Linked DNA regions of Homo sapiens: all the other regions are linked to region 2. Evidence: promoter capture Hi-C in human tissues and cell types (Jung and others, 2019). All regions are on one chromosome and are shown on one strand. The core of a region is centred on a gene start or on the middle of the fragment in contact, and the rest is flanking DNA. Distances in the headings are between cores, read along the strand shown. Region 1 overlaps XPO6 (exportin 6). Region 2 holds the start of GSG1L (GSG1 like). Region 3 overlaps XPO6 (exportin 6).

Region 1 (3,694 bases), core at 1,044-3,543, 66 kb before region 2:
CCCCTGCACCTGTTGCAAATGGCCCCAGGGGCTCTGACCAGAGCTGGTTGAAAAGGCTTTTGGCTGCTGTTTACAGGCCCTGCCTGCTTGGGGTTTAGGGTTAGTTTGCTTTGTTATTTTGTTGATAACAATAATAGTAATAGCTTCCATTTGTAGCTCTCATTACATGCCAGGCACTGTGTTATTGACTTATATTACTTAATTCTCTCCATCGTCCTGTGAGGTGTAAGTGCTATTACTAGTTACCCCTGTTTTACATAAGAGGAAATTGATGTTCAGAGATGTTAATTTACCCAGGGTCCCATGGCTTTGTTGGTACAAGTCGCATGATGGTATAATAGGGAATGACAAAATGTTGAAATAGCTAACATCTGACATTCATTTTTGTCAACTGAAAACACCAGTAACTGAAAGCCACATGTGTCCTCCCTGCCCCATCAGCTGCTATGCACCACTCTCACTGCCCTTCCTTCTTCCCAGCATGCTTCTTATGGGATCTGTCCCGGCTCTGGTGCGCAGCCCCTGTGTTGGGTAACTGTTGTTTCAGCCCAGCACAGAGCCGCCCAGTGTGCAGCCCATCTCCTGGATGAGCTTGTGATTCATGGCAGAGCCTCCACAGGAGCCTTTTTCCGAGGCTGTCCTTGGTGGTCTGTGACGGCTGGTTTCCATGACTATATAAGCTTCTAAATAATCTAGTGGGCCCCAGGAGGCTGATGGGCCTTGGCATGCCCCGAATGTAGGCCCTGACTTTGTAGATAGGGTAAGAAATTTAAAAAGACAAAACTTTAAAAAGACACTTTCAAAACAAACATGCTTATAAAATGTGCTGTCACCACTAATGAAAATCATTTGGCTGTGTAGAAGTGCTACAGATGTTTCCAGAAGCCATTTTTGGGAATAATCGTGCCCAGGTGGTCTTTCCTTCAGGACCACTATTCAAATTAGAATGTACTCAGGACCCTGAAGACACTGTTCTTGATCTATTAAAAAAATCAAGCAGGTGTTCTTTCCTCCCCCACACTGACCCTTCAGTGTCCTGTTTACTTTTGTAAAAGCTGGTGTTTTTACATTCTGTTGTGTCTGTCTTTAGGTGAAAGTCTAGTGAATCTGAAACTCTATTTCTGGGACATAGCTGATAATTCTGAGCTCTTCTCCCTAGAAGGATAATGTGATTTATTTTTTCCTATAGGAAATACCGCATACTTGCTTTCACTAAAGCCTGTTTACTGGCAATTTCACAGAACTCGGCTCGTCCGGATCATTTATAAATCTCATCCTCAGCACTGATCCTTGGCTTGTACTCCAGTGGCAAAACCTCCCAGGCCAGAAAAATGCTTATTTCCTGCTTTAAAACGAGCTCTCTCATCCATGACAAAGCATTCCCCAATTTTTGGTGGCTCAGAAGCCAAGTTTCCAGTGCAAAGGCTATTAACAAATGGAAACTCTGAGTACATTTTTTCCCCTGGTTCCCATAGCCATTTACCCCCTCAAATAACCTCCATGCCACACCAGTCAGTCAGCCTCATGACCCTCAGCAGAAACTGTGCCCTCTCATCCCTGATAGGCTCTGGGCCTTCCTTCATTTGCATTTACTTTCTAGCCCAGCCTTTAGTTCTTGGGTCTCCTCTGGAGCCTGTGTAAATGGGCGCCAGCCGCGATTCTTGTCTACTCCTGGTGCTGTGACCGTGTATGACAATGGGATGCACATTTTGGCCAGCAGTGAGGCCTGCAGTGTGGTTACCCAGCCTGGAAGGCTCCCACTTTTGCTTTTGTCAGAGCAGTTGGATTCAGAAGATCTCGTGCTTCTCACTGTTTCCCTTCCTGCTGCTGAGCCTGCCTCCACTTCCCTGTCAAGACCAAGGCACAGCTTGTCTTGCTGGGCCACGTTGGTTGCTCTGTGCTGCTCTGGCTCCTGGCAGGTCATCCTTTGCTCCCTCTGTCTTTTCTACCTTATGTGGGTTAAGAAACCCTCATTGGTGGTGTTCCCCTTGCACAGCATTGACATCCGTATGTGACCCCAAAGCCTCCATTCTGTATTTGACTTCTGCCACCCCTCATTGGCATCTTCCTTCATTGAGACAGTATTTCTCCTCTAAGTAACCCTTTAACTTTTCTGGTTACCCATGCAAACTTTCCTGTGTAAGGGATTATTTTGCCTACAACATTTTATGTAAGATTTTTAGACTTAAATTGTTTGTTCTGCTTGGGTCCGTTTATGATTTATGATTATGATTTGTTCTCTCAGAGGGAAATGCCTGAATGCTAATTTTTAGACCTCCCTCAACTCCTCAAAAAGAGAAGACTAAATTATGTTTAAGACTTTTTTTTCCCCTAGGGCAGTGAATTGCCAAGGAGCTGTTCTTTGGATGTGGCTTAGGTCATACCTAGACAGCTTTAGAATGACTTGGTTTGTGGAAGATAGGACTTTTGTGTGGCCATGATGTTTTGTGCCTCCAAACCTTTCAGCATTATTCTCATCTGAAGGTTCTACCTTGCAGATGTCCTGTGCTTTTGGGGGGAAATCTAAGCCTTGACCAGACAGAAGAAAGTGTGGGTGGATCTGAACAGCTTTTCACAGTGGGACACTGGCCTATCCCCTCAAGTTTACTTGATGCCCTGCGTGACTTTTGTGGTGGTGAAATTAGGTTTATAGGCTGAAGGAGGGGGTGTCAAGGGTAGAGAATTTGATTTGGGGTATTTATTGCCCATGCGATTGTCTGCCTTGCAGATAGAACAGGAAAGAACCAGCTGTACTTTTGATGAACATGGATCTTAGATACACATATGTGTGAAGTGGAACTGTATGGAATTGCAGTTTTGTTGGGTCAGAAGTGATCAAGTGTCAACAGTTTCATATTGTTCAAACTCACAGTTTAAAACACACACCCAGCACTTCCAAGCTGTTTTCCATCCTGGGTACTGGATGCTAGGTACCCATAGTTGTCATCCTAGGTACTGCTCTTTGCTAGACAAAATAGGACAAGTTCAGAGGGGAGGGATCAGGATGGCAAGGATTCTCAGGAGGGTAATGAGGGGTTACATCCCCAGGGCTATCATGCTGTCAGCAGGCTTTGGCTTGTTCTGTGTTCTACCCTCAAGGAGTGGGCCAGGGGTGATGAGCAATCACAGGGAGATTTACTTTACCCGTGTTTGTGACCAAGTTGTCCAGAGATGGAAGGGCTCCCTTGAGCTCCCTAGCATTCAGCCGAGGTCCAGGAAGAGGCTGAAGGGCCGGGTGTGCAGGGGAAGTGCTGGGCAGAGGGGACGGCTTGGTCAGGGCGACTTTTAAGCTCTCTAGTAATTGTCTATTAAGGACCATACTCAAATGGAAACTTGATTTAGGGTAGTGTTTTGGTTTGGTTTTTAAAACAAATACAGTGTTCCCCTTGTACACTTAAAATACTTAAGAAGCTTGTTCTCAGGTATTCAGCAGGTACCTAGTTGAAGGAATTGGATACTATAGAGAAGTTGGAAACTGGTGGTCAGGGTAGAGCCTGGGGGGAGGTGGAGGTGCGAAATGAAGGTTGAGCATGTGGAGAGTGCCAGGGACTGCTGAAGCGGACTCAGTGACCCCCAGTGTTGCTCTGAGAAAGAAAAGCTGGCCTCCCCTCTTTTTGGGCCTGTACTATGCTATACCCAGTGTCAGGGTGTATTTTTCATTAGAGTTTATTCCCACAGAGCCCTGAGGTCTGGT
Region 2 (3,470 bases), core at 69-2,568:
TCGGAGCAGTTCTCAGCTTGGGCAGAATTCAAATGAGCTCTTATAATCAACATGCAATTAATTGTTGCACGCCCTGAGCATCTGGGCAGTAAGTGCTGTGCAGCGCGAAGGGAGTTCAGGGAGCGTGGTCATCTTAGAGCAGAGGTGGGGACGGGGTTGCACACAGTTTCCACGTTGCACAGGAGAGCCTGAAGAGGTTTGTCTGAGTTTGGTCAACTGATCTTGGTTCAGATGTCAGTAACAGTGAATTATTAATTGAGTCTACTGTGTGCCAAATGCTTTTTGCAGCCATGATCTCATTACAGCAGCCCACTGTGATATACCTTGAAGGGGGGGGGGTCCTCCCTTTTTTATAGTTATGGAAATTGAGGCTCAGAGAGGGTAAGTGACCTGTTCAAAGCCACACAGCTGGTCAAGCCCTAGATATGCTTGATCCCAAAGTCAGTATGTTTGGCCACCCTGCCCCCACCCGAATCTTGAAGATTCTACCCACATTCACATGGTGTGCATGTGAGCAGGGTTGGCAGCCCCTGTAGGGCACCACTGCCTGGTAGCTGCAATAACTTTGTGGCCGGCATGGGCCCTCCTAGGGTTCTGCTGTTTGGGATCTCAGGTGGGTGCAGTGGGCTGTCTGGGGTACCCTGTTGCCACTCTTCCTGCAGTTGCATGCCATGGTTGGGAGCCCAGATGACAGTTTCATCCTTGGAGGGGAGCTCTTCCCAGATGCTGGAGGTGACACCCAGGAGACAGAAAAACGTTTCAAACCCTATAACCCAATACTCCAGGAGGGGCGCCTCCTGACAGATTCTGCCACTCCAAGTCCAGCATGGGTTGTCTTATCCAGGGGGTCTTGCAGCTCCCTGGCTGTGGGAAGCCCTGCAGGCTCTGCTGTTTAGAACCTTTGGAAAAACTCCTTTCTCAGGGTCTGGTGCGGGGGTCCTTTTGGGGATCCCCTTCTGGGACAGGGTCCTGCTGGTCCGTGTCCCTCTTGGGGAGCCCCAGCAGGCTCTGCCCTTGTCTCCTGGGGCAGGGCCTCTCTGGGTCTCATGAGATGCCCGCTCCCGGCGGGTTTTGTTGCCCCACGTCCGCCGTGGGGATCTTTTCTCAGGAGCGCCTTGCCTGGGATTCTCCTTGCGTCTCAGACCCTCACCCTGGCTCGGATTTCTTTCGGGGGCGTCCCTCCACTCCCAGGCCCCCGCCCGCGCCCGGCGTGGCGGCCCCCTCTCCCCGTGCGGGCGGGCTCCGGAACAGTGTCGCCGGCCGCCTGCAGGTGTCTCCCCACGGAGGGGCGCGCGTCCCTGCGCCGTGGCCGCTGCCAGGCGCCAGCGGCTCCTAGCCGAGGTGCACTCGCGCTCCGGGCTCCGGGCGCGCCGTAGCCGCTCCTCCACCGCCGCCCGCCCCGCCAGCCCGCCCCGCACGCCCCCCGCGCCGCGCCCCCACCCCGGGGTTGGGGGGGGCATGGGCCCGCGCCGCGTCCGCCGCCGCCGATCTCAGGCACCCGAGCCCCGGGGCGCGGCGGGCAGCGGCCGCTGACGCGGGGCGCCAGCTGCCAACTTCGCGCGCGGAGCTCCCCGGCGGTGCAGTCCCGTCCCGGCGGCGCGGGCGGCATGAAGACTAGCCGCCGCGGCCGAGCGCTCCTGGCCGTGGCCCTGAACCTGCTGGCGCTGCTGTTCGCCACCACCGCTTTCCTCACCACGCACTGGTGCCAGGGCACGCAGCGGGTCCCCAAGCCGGGCTGCGGCCAGGGCGGGCGCGCCAACTGCCCCAACTCGGGCGCCAACGCCACGGCCAACGGCACCGCCGCCCCCGCCGCCGCCGCCGCCGCCGCCACCGCCTCGGGGAACGGCCCCCCTGGCGGCGCGCTCTACAGCTGGGAGACCGGCGACGACCGCTTCCTCTTCAGGAATTTCCACACCGGCATCTGGTACTCGTGCGAGGAGGAGCTCAGCGGGCTTGGTGAGTGCGCGCGGGCGGCGGCCAGCTCGGCTCCGGCTCCCCCGGGGCGGCGCGGCCATCGAGGCCCGAGCCCCGGACCCGTTCGCCCTCCTCCCGCCGCCTGGGCCCAGCTCCCAGCGCTCCGCCTGGCTAGGGGCGACGTTCCGGGGCAGGGGGCGCGCGCCGTTCCGGGGCCGGGGACCAGCATGGGGGGACGTGCGGGACGCCCCGCCGTGGAGAGGTGCAAGGCAGAGCTCCTACCCGCTGCGGACGCCCCGCGGCTTTGGGGACGCTCCCGCGCCCCGGGAAGGCGCCCACCCCCGCTGCCGGTCGGAGGGGCGCGCGCTGCTTTCCGCTCCTGAACTCATCTCCACGCTCGCCCCCTCCTCCTCTTCCTTTCGCGGGGCACTAGATGCCCCCACCCACCCCGGAACGCCCCTGGGGGTGGGGGTGATGCAGGGACTCCTGCTACCAGCCGCCCCTCCTGCCGCAGATCCACAGACCCGGGAGCCTTCCACCCCCATCGCCAACCCACGCCGAACCTCCCAGACGGGAGTGGGGAGTGGGGGAGTCCCGCGGGCTCCCGGAAAGCCGCACCCGCCCAGAGGCACCCCTATTGCCAGACGCCAGGGAGCCCTCTGTATCCTGGCCCCCTCCTGGGAGAGGCAGGCTAGGGAACTGGGGACAGCTGGGCAAACTCCGGGTCGAGGAGTCCAGGAGGGCTTAGCTTAGCACAAGGCTCCTATTAGGTTCGGTGGGGGACTGACTTTTCAGAAGGCAGATCAGACTGTCCCCTTTGCCTGGACCCCCTCCTCTACCCTCCAGAGGCAGCCTGGGCTGGAGTGCGTGTTTTGGAGGCAGACAGCCGGGCTGTGGCAGGGCCCAGGGGACAGCTGCCGGACAGCTGGTTGTGCCACACAGCAGGTAGAGCTGGCCCGAAAGACGTGGTATCTCTGAGCGGGTGTCCAGGCATGGACACCCTCCTGAGTGAATTGACCTCTTTCTCCAAGGTTAAAACTCCTCCCTGCATGCCTAGCTCCTCAGTGTGGACACCACACATATGTGTGTGCTCAAGGGTGGGTTACAGCAGACCTCCACCCTTAGTTTGCCCTAAATAAGCCAGTGGCCTAAGTGGTTTAGAGGGCAGAGGGAGGAAGCTGTGAAGCGAACCCAGTGAAAAGCTCCAGGCCTCTGCACAGGCTGCATCCTCTGTCTGGAATGCCCTTCCCCGCCCCACCTCCTTCTTCAGGGGCTCCTTTCACTGGGACTCTCCCACCTGCCTTCCATGTCAGGATACTGAGGAGGGACAACCTTGTGAGCTCCCCGTTGGAGGGAGGGTCTCCATCTTTGGATCTCACCACTGCGTTTATCTCCCTGCCACACTTGGCACTCCCTGACATTTTCTGGGGCCTGTTTTTGGTCACTAGCTTATAGTCCCCACTCCCCATAGGATGTCACTCTGTGAGGGCCAGCCCGGTTGGTCTTGTTCACTGCTGCCTCCCAGTAATGTCTAGCGCATAGTAGGTCTTCAATAA
Region 3 (3,690 bases), core at 291-2,790, 83 kb before region 2:
AAGACTTATGAAGATCACATAGACCAATGCAAATGAAAACTAAACACTGTAAACCACTTGGAAGATAGAATGGTATCATTAGTTTCTTAAAGAAACCTGGATTTGTAGCCCTGGAATCTGAAAAGTAAATTGGGGTCTAGGTCCATTTTAAAAATGGGTCTGTGAAGGTTTTGAAAAGTTAGGCGACTTCAAAAATGGAGCCAGCCCATCATCTTGATGACCGGAATGAACCATGTCCACAGCAACTATCAGAGGCCAGGTCATGGGCGGCCTGTGGGCAGTGCACAAGCCCTCGCAGTGGGGCCTGCAGGAATGGATGTGAAAGGTGGTGCTTCAGGTTATACAGGGTGTGTCTGCTCACCTTTCCCCCAGCCTTGAGCATATAGCAAGTCCTCAATTCACATGCATGAAGTTTATATGTATAATTATAAAGTACTTTGACGGAGCCATAATACTTGGATTTATGTGGTAACCTTTCCCAAAGGCACTTCCATATGCATCTGATGAGCTGTGCTCTTTTGAGGGGGCTAGTGGATAGTTTTGAACCAAGGAGGGATAACCTTGGTGATTGACTTGAGGGAAGCTCAGCAAGTTGAACCTAGGACAAGAGTGTGTCTCTTGGATGGGCAAGTCTAGTGGCCTGTCCAAGGACTACTCATATCATTTCTTCTTTTTTTTTGAGACAGGGTCTTGCTCTGTTGTCCAGGCTGGAGTGCAGTGGCACGATCTCAGCTCACTGCAACCTCCGCCTCCTGGATTCAAGCGATTTTCCTGTTAAGCCTCCCGAGTAGCTGGGATCACAGGCGTGCATCGCCATGCTCGGCTAATTTTTGTATTTTTAGTAGAGAAAGGGTTTACACCATGTTGGCCAGGGTGGTCTCAAACTCCTGACCTCAAGAGATCCACCCGCCTGGGCCTCCCAAAGTGTTGGGATTACAGATGTGAGCCACTCGGTCTGGCTGCCGTATCATTTCCATGTGGCTTATTCATTGTTTTTCCTGGTTATTCTCCTGGTTCACTTCATGTCGTGGATATTGTCAGTATTGCCAAGTATGAGGTAGAGACAGGACTTGGTCATTTTGTTTTCTGAGGTTGGTCCTGTCTAGTTCCAGAGCTACCCTTTGGGTCGTGAAGTTGGAATTTGCCTGGCTTTTTAAGTTACACTCTTTTCTTTTTTCTTTCTTTTTCTTCCTTTCCTTTCCTATTTTAATTTTTTTTCTAAAATATACACACCGAGTCTCACTATGTTGCCCAGGCTGGTCTCGAACTCCTGGTCTCAAGCAGTCCACCTGCCGTGGCCTCTCATAATGCTGGAATTACAGGCATGAGCCACCACGCCCAGCCAAGTTACACTTATTCTGTCTCAGACTTCAGCTTAGGTACAGAACTCCCACTGGATACCACCACCCATTGTTAGTTATTTCTTGGGCACCTCCATGTATGCCCTTGTAAACGTCTAGATTTCCATGTGGATCAGCAATGGAAAGAAACTGATCCAAGAAGGTCATGTTATTATTTATTTTCATATTTGATCTTGTCACCAAATATGTGGTCCAGTGAGACAGCCACCAGCAAAACCAAAGGAGTCTTTCAGGTAGTGAGCATTTGAGTGGAGATATCAGGGTTTGGAGCCACAAGTTGAACCTGAATGCATAGGGGAAGGAGTAGCTGTTGGAGATTGTGTTGCCTGGACTTTGCATGAAATAGAGTCTCAGAGCCCTTGAGAAAGTTAACTAGTGCAGTGGTCTTCATTGTACTACTAGGATCCTACAAAGACTTCTCACTTTGTTCCTCCACATCAGCACCTGGTTGGAGGTTGCTATTAGCACGTTTGACACCCTTGCTTTTGCAAATGGGATAATGCCCTGAGGGTCAGACTTAATGAGCTCATTTTCAGTCTGTTCTGTAGGAAGACTGCAAGTGTTACTTTCCTTACATTCAAATGTGTGAACCTGTCACCTTTGGAGCCACTGAAACTGATTTTTGCTTTCGTAATGGTTTGTAATGGAAAGAGCATTGGCTGGGGGTAAAGGGACTTGTTTTTACCTCTGGCCTTGAACAACTTATATCTCTGAATCTCGATTTCTCTCTGGAAAATAGATTTAAACTAGATGATCTGTAAGAGCCCTCTCTACCAGTCTCAGATTTTAAGATAGGTTTTTGCTTGACTTATTTTATAACTCAGTTTATGCTGCACAGTATCTCCCTCATGATGTGTTCCATGGTACCCTTGTCTTGTAAGGTTCAGGAGGGCCCAATGGTATAGACCGACTAAAAGCCACCAGTTTTGGTTACCAGGAAACTGGGGAATCTAGGCTTATGATTTCATCATTCTGCTGGAATTAAACACTGGCATGTGTGTGTTTCTAAGGAATAGTAGCATTAAATAATTTCATTGTCTGGATTTTTTTTGTACCATAGCCTACTCATGAAGGTTACTTCTCTTGTTTGGATATCTGGACGCTGTTTTTGGACTATCTGACAAGTAAAATTAAAAGTCGTCTTGGAGACAAGGAAGCAGTTCTCAACAGGTAAACTCCTCAAACACTGAAAACTAGATATGGTCATTTTGCCAGTTATTCTAGTGGCCTAAGAGACAGCCATGCATTTGGACCTTTTCAGTGAAGCTGAGTCATGTAAGCTGTTTAGGCAATAATGCCATTGAGCATTTCCTTTTTTTTCTCCTTTAAGTATTTTGTTAAGACTTTTTAAAATTTTAAAAGTAATATGTATTACTAATTTTTTATATTTTAGTGCATTTGTGTTAATGTTCTTAATTTTTTAATAGCCCTTATTTTAGAGATACAAACTGAAGTATTTATTGGATAAAATGATATGACATCTGGGATTTGCTTAAATAACCCAGTGGGGGTAGAAGGGAAGTGGGTTCCTGTAGAGAAGAAACAGGCTGCCCATGTGTTGGTGATTGATGTTGGAGTTAGTTCCTAGGAACTTGGGGTTCATTATGTTCTTACCCCATTTGTATGTGTTTGAAAATTTCCTAAATAAATTAATAAATACCTGTTAAGAAAAAGGTGTTCATTTTTAAATCTAGGAAAAGATATAGGAAAATGTAAGGAAGATAAACATAATCCCACACCCCAGAGATAATTGCTTTTGCACTTTTTGTTGTATTTTTAAAAAACAGAGAATGCGGAATGGTTTGTTTCCCCCCCCATATGTTTCTCAAACCCATTTTTCTTGCTTGCAGGAAGAGAGTATATTTCCTGTACAATATGTTCTTTGTGCCACAGGGTGGGGAGAAGAGGAGGGGAAGGTGGAGATTCAGCATGCCAGGAAAATAATGGCAGCATCCATATATGGGGAAAGTAAATGTGGCAGCTTTTCTTAGCAGAAACATACCCATCATAGTCTCAGTAGGTGACTGCATCCCAGTCACACAGTGAGCAGGCAGTCATGAAGGAGGCAAAGAAGCTATATTTTGCATTTTAGGATCAGAGTAGTTTCCTAATAAACTAAAACTGATTCGTGTAATTTGTATATTTATGCTATGAGATTACAAACTAGGTGATCTAGCCCTAAGTACTTTATCATACTTAACAGAGTGCCTGCAGATTTTACTCAGTTTGGTTATAGCTCCTACTTCTTTGCACAGTATTTATAAGAGCAATTTCAGATTAGGTGGTCATTGTGTTGTAAAACCAGTGCATGAGGGGGTTCTGTCGAGTG

The links. The method cuts DNA at HindIII sites, captures the fragments that hold promoters and counts their contacts. A contact is called where the count stands out against the background at its distance.
Region 1: a contact is called between a fragment that was not itself captured here and the fragment with the promoter of GSG1L in region 2, in 2 of the 25 tissues and cell types used here (dorsolateral prefrontal cortex and spleen).
Region 3: a fragment that was not itself captured here is called in contact with the fragment with the promoter of GSG1L in region 2 in 2 of the 25 tissues and cell types used here (liver and spleen).

What each region holds. Positions count from the first base shown.
Region 1 is chr16:28,128,237-28,131,930 of GRCh38, reverse strand. The region is part of intron 12 of XPO6 (exportin 6); the gene reads left to right. Among named protein-coding and RNA genes, the nearest start is that of GSG1L, 66 kb to the right of the region's middle. The HindIII fragment of the contact is 4,971 bases long and covers 1-3,694 here.
Region 2 is chr16:28,061,562-28,065,031 of GRCh38, reverse strand. It overlaps GSG1L (GSG1 like), which reads left to right and starts at 1,318. Exons shown (of 7, transcript NM_001109763.2): 1 at 1,318-1,956. The coding sequence starts at 1,608. The HindIII fragment of the contact is 12,466 bases long and covers 1-3,470 here.
Region 3 is chr16:28,144,935-28,148,624 of GRCh38, reverse strand. XPO6 (exportin 6) reads left to right here. Exons shown (of 24, transcript NM_015171.4): 9 at 2,422-2,531. Among named protein-coding and RNA genes, the nearest start is that of XPO6, 65 kb to the left of the region's middle. RefSeq lists an enhancer at 1,541-2,056. The HindIII fragment of the contact is 5,335 bases long and covers 1-3,690 here.